Regions from separate parts of the Homo sapiens genome. Here all the other regions are linked to region 3. The links are contacts of gene promoters, found by promoter capture Hi-C in blood cells and fetal thymus (Javierre and others, 2016). All regions are on one chromosome and are shown on one strand. Each heading gives the region's core, a stretch centred on a gene start or on the middle of the fragment in contact. The rest is flanking DNA. Distances are from core to core; before and after follow the strand shown. Region 1 overlaps SDHAF3 (succinate dehydrogenase complex assembly factor 3). Region 2 overlaps SDHAF3 (succinate dehydrogenase complex assembly factor 3). Region 3 holds the start of LMTK2 (lemur tyrosine kinase 2). Region 4 overlaps SDHAF3 (succinate dehydrogenase complex assembly factor 3). Region 5 has its middle 8.5 kb from the start of SDHAF3.

Region 1 (2,700 bases), core at 104-2,603, 930 kb before region 3:
TTTTACATACTTAACATTTATAGTACCTGCTTTAAAATCTATCTCTGCTTATTCTAATGTCTGAATAATCTCAGGCACTGGTCTCCATTGATTGCCTCTTCTCTTAACTGTGTTTGTAATAATTTTTAATTTTTTTCCTGGACACTGTAAATGATACATTGTAGAGACATTATTCTAGATTTTTCCTCACCCAAACGGAAACTCGGTGGCCATTAAACAGTAACACCCTCTCCTACCTCCTCCCAGCCCTTAGTATTATCTATTCTTTCTGTCTATGAATTTTCCTATTCTAGATATTTCATGTAAGTGGAATCATACAATATGTCTTTTTATGTTTGGCTTCTTAGCATAATCTTTTTAAGGTTTATCCATGTTGTAGTATGGATCAGAACTTCATTCCCTTTTAAGGGTGATAAATATTCCATTGTATGTGTATACCACATTTTGTTTATCTGCTTGCTGGTGGACATCTAGGTTATTTTCCAAATGTCGTCTATTGTGTATACAAGTATGTGTTTGAGTTCCTGTTCTCAGTTATTTTGGTAATATACCTATGAGTGCATTTGCTGGATCATATGGTAATTCTGTGTTTAACTTTCTGAGGAACTGCCAGTCTTTTCTGCAGTGGCTATACCATTTTATATTCTCATTATCAATGTATGAGGATTCTAGTTTATTCCAACTGTTATTTTTCTGGGGTTTAAAAAATTATTATAGTAGACATCTTAGGGTGAAGTGGCATCTCATTGTGGTTTTGATTTACATTTTTCTAATGGCAAATGATTTTGACCATCTTTTCATGTACTTGGCCATCTGTATATCTTTGGAGAAATGTCTATTCATGTGCTTTACCCATTTTTAAATTGGGCTATTTGTCTTTTAGTTGTGGTTCTTTATATATTCTGGATAATAAACCCTTTTCAGATACGATTTGCAAATTTTTTCTCATTTTGTAGTTTGTCTTTTTACTATTAGGTGTCCTTTGATGCACAGAAGTATTTAATTTTGATACTGTCCAGTTTATTTTTGTTGTTGTTGCTTGGGCTTTTGGTGTCATATCTAAGAACCTATTGCCAAATCAAAGGTCATAAAGATTTACCTATATATTTTCTTCTAGGATTCTCATGATTTTAGCTCTTATATTTAGGTCTTTGATTCACTTTGAGTTAATTTTTGTATATGGTAGAAGATGGGGTGTCTAACTTCACTCTTTTGCATGTGGAAATTCAGTTTTCCCAGCACCAGTTGTTGCCTAGATTATTCTTTCCTCCACTGAATGGATTTGACATCTTTATCAAAAATCAATTGGCTATATATGTAAGGATTTACTTCTGGACTCCTCATTCTATTGGTGTTATATATCTATTCTAATGCCAGTGCCACACTTTTGTTTAATGTGGCTTTCTAGTTAAGTTTTGAAATTGGGAGTTGTGAGTCCTCTGTTTTTGCTATTTAGAGCTCCTTAGTTGTCCATTTTTGTAAATGAATAATTTCTTAAAGCCTGCTTTTTAGATTTTATTTTTTGGAGTTTCATCCGTGTTGATACATAGACTTGTAGCTTATTTGTTGTGACATCTTTATTATCATCTGAGTAAATTTCAGTGTATTTGACTTTTCTATTGAAGTACAATTATTTCCATTTTTTTTTTTTTTTTTGCTTTAACAATCAACATTCTTCTGCATGATACTTGTTCACATGTTTTAAAGTTTCTTTAGGATGGTAGGGTGATTTTTGCCTTGCCAGGAAACCTTTGGCAGTGTTTCGAGACATTTTAGATTATCAAGACGGGGAGAGGGGTGTTACTGCCATCTGGTGGTCAGAGACAAGAGATGCTGCTAAACATCCTGCAATGCAGACTCTCACTGACCCCTCCCCACCCCTACCCCCCCTACACACACAAAATAGTGCCAAGGTTGAAAAACCCTGCCTGCCCTGAAGCATATAGAAGTGGAATTGATAAAACTTGAAATGTTTTCATCTTAATAAGTGGATTTCTGTAAATCATGGAAAAAATATTTTCTCCATAGGTTTGGAATGTTTGGAATTAAAGTTGCTCTGGCAATGCTGCCATTCCAGCAATTACAAGCAATTTATATATCTCAAGCCAGATCAGGTAGCAGCATTATCCAGAGTTAGCCAGTTCATTCACTTTAACTTCATGAACTAAAATACTTTGGCACTTTGTCTGCTTAAAAGATTAATTTTAGAGTGAGTCTGTTTCAAAACAGTGGCACTTGTGCAGATGGGGATAGTTGGAATATTAGGCTGAATGTACTTAATAAGAGCAAAATTAGAACATGAAAAAGTTTTTCTTGACACAGATGGTTGTTAAACATTGAAGACTTAAAGGTTTAAGAAGTTTTTCTCTAGTATATTTTAAATTAAAATTGTAATTGAAGACATAGGAATGAATTTAGACTCACTTGAAGATGTGTTACATGTCACCGTGGAATACTGTGCTGCCATAAATAGGATGAAAGCATGTCCTTTGCAGCAACATAGATGCCATGATCCTAGGCAAATTAACACAGGAACAGAAAAATAAAATTTTAAGTGGGAGCTAAACATTGAGCACACATGGATGTAAACTGGGAACAGCTGACAGCATGGACTACTGGAGGGTGGTATGGGTTGAAAAGCTACATGTTGGGTATTGTGCTTACTCCCTGGGTGACAGGACCTGTACCCAAACTTGAGCA
Region 2 (2,908 bases), core at 262-2,761, 950 kb before region 3:
TGTATTTTTAGTAGAGACGGGATTTCACTTGTTAGCCAGGATAGTCTCGATCTCCTGACCTTGTGATCCTTCCGCCATGGCCTCCCAAAGTGCTGGGATTACAGGTGTGAGCCACCGCACCCGGCCTAGGAATCTTTTTCTGATCAGTAGTCTGAATAGCGGGGTTAAAATACTCAGTAGCTGGGACTACAGGCCTGCACCACTGCGCCTGGCTGTCAGTTGTTTGTTAGTGTGTTTTAAGACTTAATATATTAAGATTAGTTTTAGGTTCTTGGCAAAATTAAGAGGAAAGCACAGAGATTTTCCATATACCTTCTGCCCCAACATATGCATAACCTCTCCCATTATCAGCATCCCCCACTGGAGTAGTACATTTGTTACAATAGATGAACAAACTGTAGGGGTGACGGGAACTTTTACTGCACACTCCGAAGTTTCTGTAGTTGAATCTGTGATAAACTGAAAGCAGACAGATTAATAGGAGAAAGGCATACGGATTTATTATGTGCATATACACGAGAGTCTCACAAAATAAAAGACTCAGAAAGGCCAGATGATTGGAATTTTTATAATATCTGTAGCTGCAGAAAGAAATAGGGGCTTGGGGCTTCTAGGGAGTGGAGGTGAGGACAGACAGGCTTTGGGAGGGTGAGGGGAAGAAATCTAGGGAACAAAGGTTGTCTTGCTACATAGATTAAAATATCTCGGGGAGCAGCCCTCCAAAGAATGGGTAAAGCTGCTCTGGGTGAGGTTGCTAACCTTTAGTCCTTTTTTTTTTTTTGAGTTGGAGTCTCCCTCTGTCCCCCAGGCTGGAGTGCAGTGGCACAATCTCCGCTCACTGCAAGCTCTGCCCCCCGGGTTCCTGCCATTCTCCTGCCTCAGCCTCCCGAGTAGCTGGGACTACAGGCGCTTGCCACCATGCCTGGCTAATTTTTTTGTATTTTTAGTAGAGACGGGGTTTCACAGTGTTCACCAGGATGGTCCCAATCTTCTGACCTCGTGATCTGCCTGCCTCGGCCTCCCAAAGTGCTGGGATTACAGGCATGAGCCACCACGCTCGGCCAACCTTTAGTCTCTTTTTCCTGTGGTACGGTCTTTCCAGATCCATCTTTAGGCAGATTAGGGGTCCTCAGAGAAAACTTCAGCTTGCATCCACTGGTTCCCTGCTGTTCCCCAGTCATGATACCAAAGAGCCTTACTTTGGGGTATCATTTTCTGAGCCCCAATACTACATTGACACATTAAGATCACCCAGAGTTCATCATTTACATGTAGGGTTTACTCTTGTTTTCTTACTTTCTGTGAGTTTAGACAAATGTATAACGACATGTATCCATCTTTATAGTAGTATATAGTATATTTTCACTGCCCTAAAAATTCTCTCTGCCCTGCCGGTTCATCCCCCTCACCAACCTCTGATAACCCACAACTGTAACCCCCAATGGGTTCTACTTGCCTTCTGCCAGATGAAGCCAATTTATCAAGATGGGAATTGCAATAGAGAAACTGTTTCATACACATAGAGCCAACTAAATTGGAGACTGGAGTTTTGGTATTACTCATATCAGCCTCCCTGAAAATTTGGAAGCTAGGGTTTTTGAAAGATAGTTTGGCAGGCATGGACTAGGGAATGGGAAATGCTGATTGGTTAAGTTAGGGATGAAATAATAGGGAGTTGAATCTGTCCTCTTGCATGGAGTCAGTTCCTGGGTGGGAGGTCACAAGACCAGATATCCCAGTTTATGGGTCTGGGTAACACCAGTGGATCCATTAGAATGCAGGGTCTGAAAAATATGTCAAACATCAGTCTTAGGTTTTACAGTAGTAATGTTATCCATAGGAGCAATTGAGGAGGTTAGGAAGTTTATGGCCTCTGACTGCGTGACTTCTGAGCCATTATTTTGTTTATTTATTTATTTATTTATTTATTTTGAGATGGAGTCTCGCTCTTTCGCCCAGGCTGGATTGCAATGGCGCAATCTCAGGTCACTGCAACCCCTGCCTCCCAGGTTCAAGCGATCCTTGTGCCTCAGCCTCCTGAGTAGCTGGGACTACAGATGTGTGCCACCATGCCCAGCAAATTTTTGTAGGCGTGGTGGTTTAGTAGAGACAGGGTTTTGCCATCTTGGCCAGTCTTGAACTCCTGACCTCAAGCAATGGTCTCCCGCCATGCCCGCCATGGCCTCCCAAAGTGCTGGGATTACAGGCATGAACCACTGCATCTGGCCCTGAGCCATTATTTCTTATTTTGTGGCAAATTTGTTAGTTTTACAAAGGTGATCTAGTCTCCAAGCAAGGAGGATGTTTGTTTTGGGGAGGGCCTGTCACTGTCTTTGTTTCAAAATTAAAGTGTAAATTCCTCACAAAGTTAGCTAGACCTACACCTAGGAATGAACAAGGGCAGTTGGGAGGTTAAAGTCACGATGCAGTTGATTAGGTCATATCTCTTTTGCTGTCATAATTTTCTCACTTGTAATTTTTGCAAAGGTGGTTTCTCCACTGATCTGTGTACTCTCACCCTAGTTTTGCCTTTTCTGGCGTGTTACATGTTGGAATCATACAGAATGTAGCCTTTTCAAATTGGCTTCTTGGCTGCTTTTATTTGGTAATATGCGTTTAAGTTTCCTATGTGTCTTTTCATGGCTTGATCATTTCTTTTTAGCTCTGATAAATATTTCATTGTCTGGGTGTACTGCAGTTTGTTCATTTACCTACTGAAGGATATCCTGGTTGCTTCCAAGTTTTGTCAATTATGAATGAAGCTGCAGTAAACATCCGTTTGCAGGGTTTTGAGTGTACATAATTTTTCAACTTCTTTGGATAAATACCAAGGAATGCAATTGCTGGATCATATGGTAAGAGTATGTTTAGTTTTGTTAGAAATTGTAAAGTGTCTTCCAAAGTGGCT
Region 3 (2,819 bases), core at 308-2,807:
CTCTGTCTCAAAGAAAAAAAAAAAAGAAGTAGAAGTACAACAGGGTGATTGTGTCTCTTTCCTAGACCTTTGCCTTCCTTACCAATTCTGCATATAATCAGCAGAAAGCCGTGAACTTTTTTTTTTTTAAGACAGAGTCTCGCTGTGTCGCCCAGGCTGGAGTGCAGCGGTGTGATCTCAGCTCACCGCAACCTCCGCCTCCTGGGTTCGAGCAATTTTCCTGCCTCAGCCTCCCAAGCAGCTGGGATTACAGGCATGCGTCACCGTGTCTGGCTAATACTTTTTGTATTTTTAGTAGAGATGGGGTATGACCATGTTGGCCAGGCTGGTCTTGAACTCCTGGTCTGAAGTGATTCACCCACCTTGGCCTCCCAAAGTGCTGAGATTACAGGTGTGAGCCACCGTGCCCAGCCAAGCCATGGACTTTTAAATTCAATGTTTCTCGTTCCAGGTATTTGTCTCCTTAGATATTTATTGGCTTGCCTCAATCATCCAACAAATATTCCCTGGGCATCATCTGTGTGTCCAGTGCTGTGTTAACATCATCGACAGCTGGCATTTAGGATGGACATTTGGGGAGTTTGGAGAATTGGGGAGGTTACACTGTTGCCAGGTGGCAAAGTCTCATCTGATAAGATTGAAATCAGCTCCTCTCATGCACACACTGAACCATAGCGCCTCTCCAGAAAAGCTTAGCATTTTCCCAACCCCCATGCCTCTGACCACTATATTACTTGTGTCTGGAGAGTGCTTTCTCTATCCTCTCTGCAGGACTGTGTTCTCACCTCACCTCTTGGTGGGGAGAAGGCCACCCCTGGGAGCTGCTCTGCCCTGGTACCTGGGACCAGGGCCATGCACCATTGCTTTAGAGAACACCTGCTCCGACCCAGGTCCTGCACCAGGGATTTCCCACCAGCTGAATCAGACACAGTTGCTGTCCTCAGGGAGCTTACAGTCACGGGTCAATAGGATACTGCAGCTAGGATAGCAGTCCACACAGGGCCAGGGCGGGGCACTAAGGAGATGACAGTCATTTCTCCTAGAGAGTCATAGATGAAGTCATATGTCAGGTGAGTCTCGACAGATGAAAGGAAGAGTGTCTGCCAGGTGGACAAGAGGCAACAGCTTGAGCTCAGGAGGTGAGTCAGTGGGTGATGCCGAGAGAGGCATTCTCTTGATCAATTCAAGTGAAAAGCCCAAAGCTGTTTGATGGCTGAGAGGATGTGTAGGTCAACTTAAGGAGAAGAGCCTAAAACAGCTCTGACAAGTAAAAAAAAAAAAAAGGCAGAAGACAAGACAGGCCTATTTTTGCATGTTATAAAACACCGAGAAAAAAATATCAGGATGATTGTCATGGTCTTCTTTACATTTTCCTGTATTTTTCAATTTAAAATAATTGTTGGTGTTACCTGCTGCCCACGCACTCCTCCGTCTGCAGGGGGCGCACCGGCCGCCACCGCTCACTCCTTCAGGATGATGGGCGGGGCCTCCTGGGCCGGTGTGGACTGACGAGTGGCTGGCCGCCCTGTCCATCACGACATCCCGCCCCCGCGCTACGTCACATGACGCAGCCCATCATGGCGGCGGGAGCGCGGCTTCCCAGGCCCGCCGCTCCGCAGGGCTGCTGGCGTTGCTGCTGTTGAGAGGCGGCGGCGGCGGCGCAGGCGGGCGGGAAGGATGGTGTTTCTGCGACTGGAGCGGCAGGTGCGGACCGGGAGCCGGACCGAGGTTTGGCAGAAGCAACGTGTGCTCGGGAGCAACCGGCGCGGGTGCCACTGAGGCAGCGGAGGGAGGCAGGATCGACTGACGGGCGAACGGACGGACGGACGGAAGGCGACTCGAGGGCCGGCCCCGGAGCCGCGCCGTGGGCGAGATGCCGGGGCCGCCGGCGTTGCGGCGGAGGCTGCTGCTGCTGCTGCTGGTCCTCCTGATCGCCGGCAGTGCTGGGGCCGCGCCACTTCCGCAAACAGGTGCAGGTGAGCGGGCCCGCGGCGGGGACGGGGCTGCGGGGTCTTCGGCGTGGAGGGGAGGGGGCGGCAGGGCCGGGCCGGCCTCGGCGCCGAGGAATCGGAGGGCCTGCCGGGGGCGGGAAGCCCAGGGAGGCGAGTGATTAGGGAGATTTCTGCCGCAGGGGCGTGGGATTTGGGGGGGCGGGAGCGAGGCGACGTCGTTGGGGCTGGGGAGGGCGGCGGGCGAGGTAGCAGCCACCGACCCCTCCCGGGATAGGCTGCGGTGCCGGCCCTGGACCTGTTGCCTTAAGATCCTCAGCTTATATCGCTTCCTGGCAGTTCAGCTTCCCTTTCCAGATGTCACCTGCCTCTTGTGCTTTTTTTTCGCATCTCATAAGAACCGTTTCTTAGCCCTAATCATACTTAAATGCAAATGACTTGGCGAGCTGTGCGGAGTTTGTTTTCGCTCCTTGCAACTTATTCTGAAGTTGTAAATTGATTTTAGACGCTGTGCTTTTTATTCGGAATGTATCTCCGGGGATGAGAAGGAAACAACTATAAATATTTCTATTTTAGGAAGCCAGTGATTAGAGTAGCAGGCGTTGAATAACTATTGACAAACTGGCTTAAGGGTGATGGAAGTTTCTATTTTAGCTAACGTCAGTGTATGATTTTCTTTTCTCCCCCCCCGCCCATTTTCTCAACATCGTTTTTATTTGGGGTTTATTTTCCTAAATAAAACTTCAACCCAAGAAAACATCCCAAGTTGGGTCATTTTTCTAAAAAGGAAAAAAAAATCTAGGCTAACTTGGCGTTATTGACTGCCGCCATTACCTTTGAAATGGGGAAAGATTGAAATTTCATACATTC
Region 4 (2,760 bases), core at 223-2,722, 970 kb before region 3:
AGTTCTGAAAGAGCTTTTGTTTTTAAGAACTTCTTTGACTTCAGGGGATTGTGGACCTCTATTAAGCTTTCTGGGAAACTGAATTAGTGTTTAGAAGGTTGCCTGGTAAACATGGAATTAAAATGACAGGGAGTGGGTAGGCGTGAGAGCTTTTTTCATCAGACCTCACTGTGTCTGCAGTAGAAAACATCCCTTTAGTGATTATTTTTGTGGGTCCTACAGCTTCGTTGCCCTTTTTTCCTGAACAGTACTGAATGCATATTGTAAGTTTGCCCTCAATCCTTTATTTTTAGGTTTACCACCTTCTTTCTGTTGAGGTATTATTGTTACTATTACACGTGTTAATGGATTAAACTACTTCTTACTTATTTTTCCTAGGCCTGAAAAATTTCAGATTCTTCTCTTTGTGTGTAAATTTAATTAGCTTAACCCTAGAGGAGGGAGAATGGTATTTGCCTCATTTACAAGTTTGTGTTCTTCTTTACTCCTAAATCAGTGTAACTCAAAGCATTTCTAAAGTAAATTGCACTTTGCTTTCAGAGCTCTAAAACACTAAAATATTTGTGCTTTATTCGAATAGATTTAAAAATTATAGTATGGTTTATTTTCCTTTAAAAGACATTTCATTGTTATAAACACACAAACAAAAACCCAAGGCCAAAACTGGAATATTATTGTACATGTCATAGGTTAAGTAGGAACAGTTTCTGGACTTTGGTGCAATAACTCTTTACTGACGAAGAGGTCTATAGTTTGTTTAAGAACTATCCCACTTAAAAACCAATCCATACACTTTTCATGCAGCTGACTCCCTCCCCCCTTTCCAAAGCTCAGAATGGCAGCAGATGATACAGCAAACACGTTACTGCAAAAACAGCTACAGCAGCTACCTGGGTGAGATGGCTGCCACCTGCAGCCTCAGTGAATCTGGCTTCACACCACATGCCTTGAATGTGGCCCCTCCCAAAAGTAACATGTTTATTGCCTCACACTTCCAATCATGGGCCTCAAGAGTTTGTGATTTATTTATTTTATAAGCTATAGATATATATAACTGATAACTCTGGATTACTGGTGAATAACCAGAATGAACACCACTTTAAAAGAAAAATGCTGTGACTATCATTAAATGCTTTTATAAGACTAAGAGAAAGATGCACAGAGTGAAAAGAACTTTCGTTTTTGAGACGGAGTCTTGCTGTGTCTCCCAGGCTGGAGTGCAGTGGCATGATCTTGGCTCACTGCAACCTCCACCTCCCAGGTTCATGTGATTCTCCTGCCTCAGCCCCCCAAGTAGCTGGTATTACAAGTGCCTGCCAACATGCCTGGCTAATTTTTGTATTTTTAGTAGATATGAGGTTTCAGTATGTTGGCCAGGCTGGTCTTGAACTCCTGACCTCAGATGACCCGTCTGCCTTGGCCTCCCAAAGTGCTGGGGTTACAGGTGTGAGCCACCTCACCCAGCTGAGAAGATGTTCTTACTTTAAAATGTTTGGACATTTTTGCAAGTTTGATACAGTTTCTGGGTGCTCATAACACCCCTGACTGTTTAATGCACATACTTAAGATTTTCAGAACACTTTTAGAGAAACTGACATGTGATCATATTCTAATTTTGTAATTAAATCTAGTAAGGGCAGAGACATTCTCAGAGAGGTGTATTATGATGTTTTCCCTACTCTGGATTTTACATGGAAAGAGATGCTCAGTTTTATTTCTTCTTCATACCCCCTTCCTTTAACCCTCTCTTTCTCCTGTCTGTCATCCTGTTCATCCTACTCCTCTTTTTTTTTTTTCCCCCCAAGGAACTTTAGCTTTCTCCTTTGCACTGTCAAATTTTCCTGAAGTGGCTACATCCTTGTCATATTTCTCATTGAGCTTTACCCCCTTATTATTGTAAGGCTGCTTTTTGTTATCAGTAAGGGTACTCTACATCATACCTAACATTTTGGTCTTCAGTTAAGATGCCAGTGTTTGTGGATTTGTTCTTAGGATACAACTCTAAACAGAACAAGAAGCTAGCTGGCAGTGATAGTTTGTGGACATTAGGATCCTTCTTCCTGCCTCTCTTAGCTGCTCCAAAATGCTTCATTTCCAGATCATCAAATTTAGATTCCTTTCTTAGACGTTGTCTCTGACCTGCAAGAGGACTTCTTAAAAACCTGCAACACTAATGGGGATCTCTGGATTTTTCTTTTTGTACTTCTGGCCTATACAAAGAAGGGAAAGTAGATCTTAGCCCATTGGTTTCTTGGGGTCACCTTTAGTCATTATTGACTGCATTATTTGCTAGTCCCCATATGTGTGTGTGTGTGTGTGTGTCTGTGTGTGTGTGTGTGTGAGATGTATGTGCGTGCGTGTGTGTGTGTGTGTGTGTGTGTGTGTGTGTATATATATATATATTTTTTTTTTTTTTTTTTTTTGGGAGACAGAGTCTCACTCTGTCGCCCAGGCTGGAGTGCAGTGGCTCAATCTCGGCTCACTGCAAGCTCCGCCTCCCAGGTTCACACCATTCTTCTGCCTCAGCCTCCTGAGTAGCTGGGACTACAGGCGCCCGCCACCACGCCTGGCTAATTTTTTGTATTTTTAGTAGAGACGGGGTTTCACCGTGTTAGCCAGGATGGTCTCGATCTCCTGACCTCGTGATCCGCCCGCCTCGGCCTCCCAAAGTGCTGGGATTACAGGTGTGAGCCACCATGCCCGGGCTAGTCCCTGTATATATTTTTAAAGAAGAATTTGGTAGGTTCATGATGATTAGGA
Region 5 (3,011 bases), core at 78-2,577, 1.0 Mb before region 3:
GAAAAATGTAACTTTCTTAAGTCTTAGGAATCTCCCAGACATTTTTTTCTTGCCATTATCCGTTAAACAATATAGGGAATAACTAAAAAAGTCTTGGGAGGGTCTATTTCTATGTTTATTCAAAAGAAACCATAAACATCAGTTTTATGGGACAATGGACCAGTTTCATAATCAACACCCATTCAACGTAGGATGTCACTTAACTTCTCTGGCCCATTTTACCACCTGTAAAATTATACGTTAATAAATATATAAAGATATGTAATTATATAATACTATATATTATACATATATAATTCTTTCTAGATCCAAACAAATATTCCTATTTTTTAAAGGACTATTTTCTATTCTGCCTACAATAGGCTATTCATTATTCTAATCAGTTTGGTTTCTTCACTGTTCTAACAACACAAGCTCAGTGTTGCTTTTCATGTTGTTTTTCTCTTTTGAAAAACCTCAGGTCTTTTCTTAACCTGTCTATATGATATCATTATTCAAGGCACAGCTTAGATTCCACTCATCTATAATGTCTTCCTAGATGAGTGCCTGAGTATATGATCACACAATTTGAAATATAATCCATTTTGTTTTGTGTTGTTCCCAGCCCTTAAGTATCTTTTTAATATTTTCTAAATATTCTGTTTTTATGTTCCTTTCTTTGTTCTAAGATTTATGTATAAGGATGCTTTAGAATTTTTGAGTGGTTGTACTTTCATGTTGTTTTAATTTTTGTGGCTACATAGTAAGTATTATGATTTTCTAATTTTGTGCATTGTGGTCAGAGAATAAGATCTATAAAATTCCTGGTTTTAAAAAATGCGTTTAAATTTTTCTTTGCAATATCATCTAATTTTTGATCAGCTTTTGTCAAGATTTTTATGGAAACTTTAAAGTAATATGAATTCTTTGTTTTCAACAGTTTTTAAGCCAGTAATGTAAAATATCTTTTTACATGTAAAAGAGATATAACTTATTGTTCAAAACTGGGAACTACATTCATAATCTTACCAGTAAGTATTTTAGCATGTTTGCTTCTAGAGTTTCTATTTTTAAAAAATGACTAAAATCATATATATTATATATATTTGTATCCTGCTCTTGATTATTAACAATAATTTGATGTGTTTTGTCATTAAAATATCATACTTAACATCATTTTTAAAAGCATATTTAATATTCCATTATATGGCTATATCATAATTTAATTAATTCCTTGGTGTTGGACATTTACATTTCATTTTTTTTTTACAACTGAAAATAATATATCATTCTTCAAATGCTAAAATAATAGACTGGAAACACACCCCAACCTCCCATTCCTACTAATCTTTAGAAATGAGATAACGTATATTTTAAAAAGCTGTAACTGGATTGGAAAAGATGGGGAATTTAATATTAATAATTTAAAGTAATATGAATTCTGTTTTAAAGTTTTTAAACAAGTTATGTAAAATATCTGTTTATATGTAAAAGAGATAATGTGTTGTTCAAAATTGGGAACTACATTCATAATCTTACCAGAAATAACAGTACTGTAAGTATTGAAACTTCAGAAACTGTGAAGATTCCCTGGGTGATGGAGAGTAGCTCTCATTGAAAAAGAAAGCTCAGCCCAAAAGGTAAGTACATGAGTACTGTTAGAAGCAGGTAAGAGTGATTCCCAGAATGTACCACACCTGGAAGAGATAAACACTATGAGCAGGGAGGGTCTTGGCAGCAAACAGGGTGATTAGTCAGGGTACCACAGTAGGATCAGCCAGGTGGCTGCCTCCAGGTGAAGGCAATGGGTATGGGAGATTGGGTCAGAGAGATAAGAATGTGCCCTTAAGTGGATAACAAGGGCACACAAGAGGGTAGGAATTTCCACAAGTGTAAGACTAAGATACCCACTAAGATACTCAGACTGGCAAGATATCCTAGTGGCACATTGTCTCTACTCCCTTACTCTTACTGAAAATTGATAGACATACAATCCTTGGTAGCCTGTCTTGTCTTTCCTTTGAGAGAAGAGACACACTAACTGGGCATCTGAAATACAAAAGTAAGTACCTAGTCAGAATTGTTCGTATTTGTGGAAAGCCAACACCCGGAAATACAATGAACTCAACAAATATAAGTACTTATACCTCAGGAAACAGTTAACAGAGCAAGCAGAACAGGATGAGAACAGAGGATAGTGTATCACTAAGAATAGGGAAACTAAATTTGAACAATAATCTGAACCTACAATTGGAATAGACATCAATATAGGACATTGCAGAGGACAGGCAGGGAGGGAAATAAAATCATGCTAATGTTCCTGTCTTATTTGGAGGAGCATATAGGAACTGATTAACCTTAGATATTGTTTGAACAATATGATATTATGGATACATGTTGAAAATGCAAGGGTGATGACTAGAACAACAGAAATAGAATTTAAAAGGCCGGGCGTGGTGGCTCACACCTGTAATCCCAGCACCCTGGGAGGCTGAGGCGGGTGGATCACAAGGTCAGGAGATTGAGACCATCCTGGCTAACACGCTGAAACCCCATCTCTACTAAAAATACAAAAAAATTAGCCGGGGGTGGTGGCAGGCACCTGTAGTCCCAGCTACTCGGGAGGCTGAGGTAGGAGAATGGCATGAACCCGGAAGGCGGAGCTTGCAGTGAGCTGAGGTCGCACCACTGTGCTCCAGCCTGGGTGACAGAGCGAGACTCTGTCTCACAAAAAAAAAAAAAAAGAAAAAAGAAATAGAATTTAAAAGTTTCCAACTGGTAGTTCAATAAAAGGCAATACAGTCAAAAAAATCTGGAAATTGTGGTTAGTAGAAAACACAAAATATGACAGCAGGGAGTAGTTCAAACAGACCATGAAACACAATAATAGGCTAAATTGATCAACTGAGAGACTGCATAAAACCCAGTTATAATAAAGAGGAGAAAAACAAAATGACATGTAATGGTTGAACATAAAAAGACACTTGAAGCAAATGTTAACAAAAGCAATTATAACTATATTAATATCAGAT

The links. The method cuts DNA at HindIII sites, captures the fragments that hold promoters and counts their contacts. A CHiCAGO score of 5 or more calls a contact.
Region 1: a fragment that was not itself captured here is called in contact with the fragment with the promoter of LMTK2 in region 3 in 1 of 17 cell types (monocytes); the score reaches 5.0 in monocytes.
Region 2: a contact is called between a fragment that was not itself captured here and the fragment with the promoter of LMTK2 in region 3, in 1 of 17 cell types (endothelial precursors). The highest score is 5.7, in endothelial precursors.
Region 4: a fragment that was not itself captured here is called in contact with the fragment with the promoter of LMTK2 in region 3 in 1 of 17 cell types (M2 macrophages); the score reaches 5.2 in M2 macrophages.
Region 5: a contact is called between a fragment that was not itself captured here and the fragment with the promoter of LMTK2 in region 3, in 1 of 17 cell types (total B cells). The highest score is 5.2, in total B cells.

Annotation. Positions count from the first base shown.
Region 1 is chr7:97,177,836-97,180,535 of GRCh38, forward strand. All of the region lies in intron 1 of SDHAF3 (succinate dehydrogenase complex assembly factor 3), which reads left to right. LOC124901704 (a long non-coding RNA gene) reads right to left here. Exons shown (of 3, transcript XR_007060445.1): 2 at 2,425-2,514. Among named protein-coding and RNA genes, the nearest start is that of SDHAF3, 61 kb to the left of the region's middle. The HindIII fragment of the contact is 4,077 bases long and covers 1-2,700 here.
Region 2 is chr7:97,150,736-97,153,643 of GRCh38, forward strand. The region is part of intron 1 of SDHAF3 (succinate dehydrogenase complex assembly factor 3); the gene reads left to right. All of the region lies in intron 2 of LOC107984034 (a long non-coding RNA gene), which reads left to right. Among named protein-coding and RNA genes, the nearest start is that of SDHAF3, 34 kb to the left of the region's middle. The HindIII fragment of the contact is 5,764 bases long and covers 1-2,908 here.
Region 3 is chr7:98,105,305-98,108,123 of GRCh38, forward strand. LMTK2 (lemur tyrosine kinase 2) reads left to right here and starts at 1,558. Exons shown (of 14, transcript NM_014916.4): 1 at 1,558-1,976. The coding sequence starts at 1,874. The HindIII fragment of the contact is 4,003 bases long and covers 690-2,819 here.
Region 4 is chr7:97,133,281-97,136,040 of GRCh38, forward strand. The region is part of intron 1 of SDHAF3 (succinate dehydrogenase complex assembly factor 3); the gene reads left to right. It also overlaps the pseudogene HMGB3P21. Among named protein-coding and RNA genes, the nearest start is that of SDHAF3, 17 kb to the left of the region's middle. RefSeq lists a silencer at 1,075-1,226. The HindIII fragment of the contact is 2,816 bases long and covers 65-2,760 here.
Region 5 is chr7:97,107,694-97,110,704 of GRCh38, forward strand. No RefSeq gene overlaps it. Among named protein-coding and RNA genes, the nearest start is that of SDHAF3, 8.5 kb to the right of the region's middle. The HindIII fragment of the contact is 9,433 bases long and covers 1-3,011 here.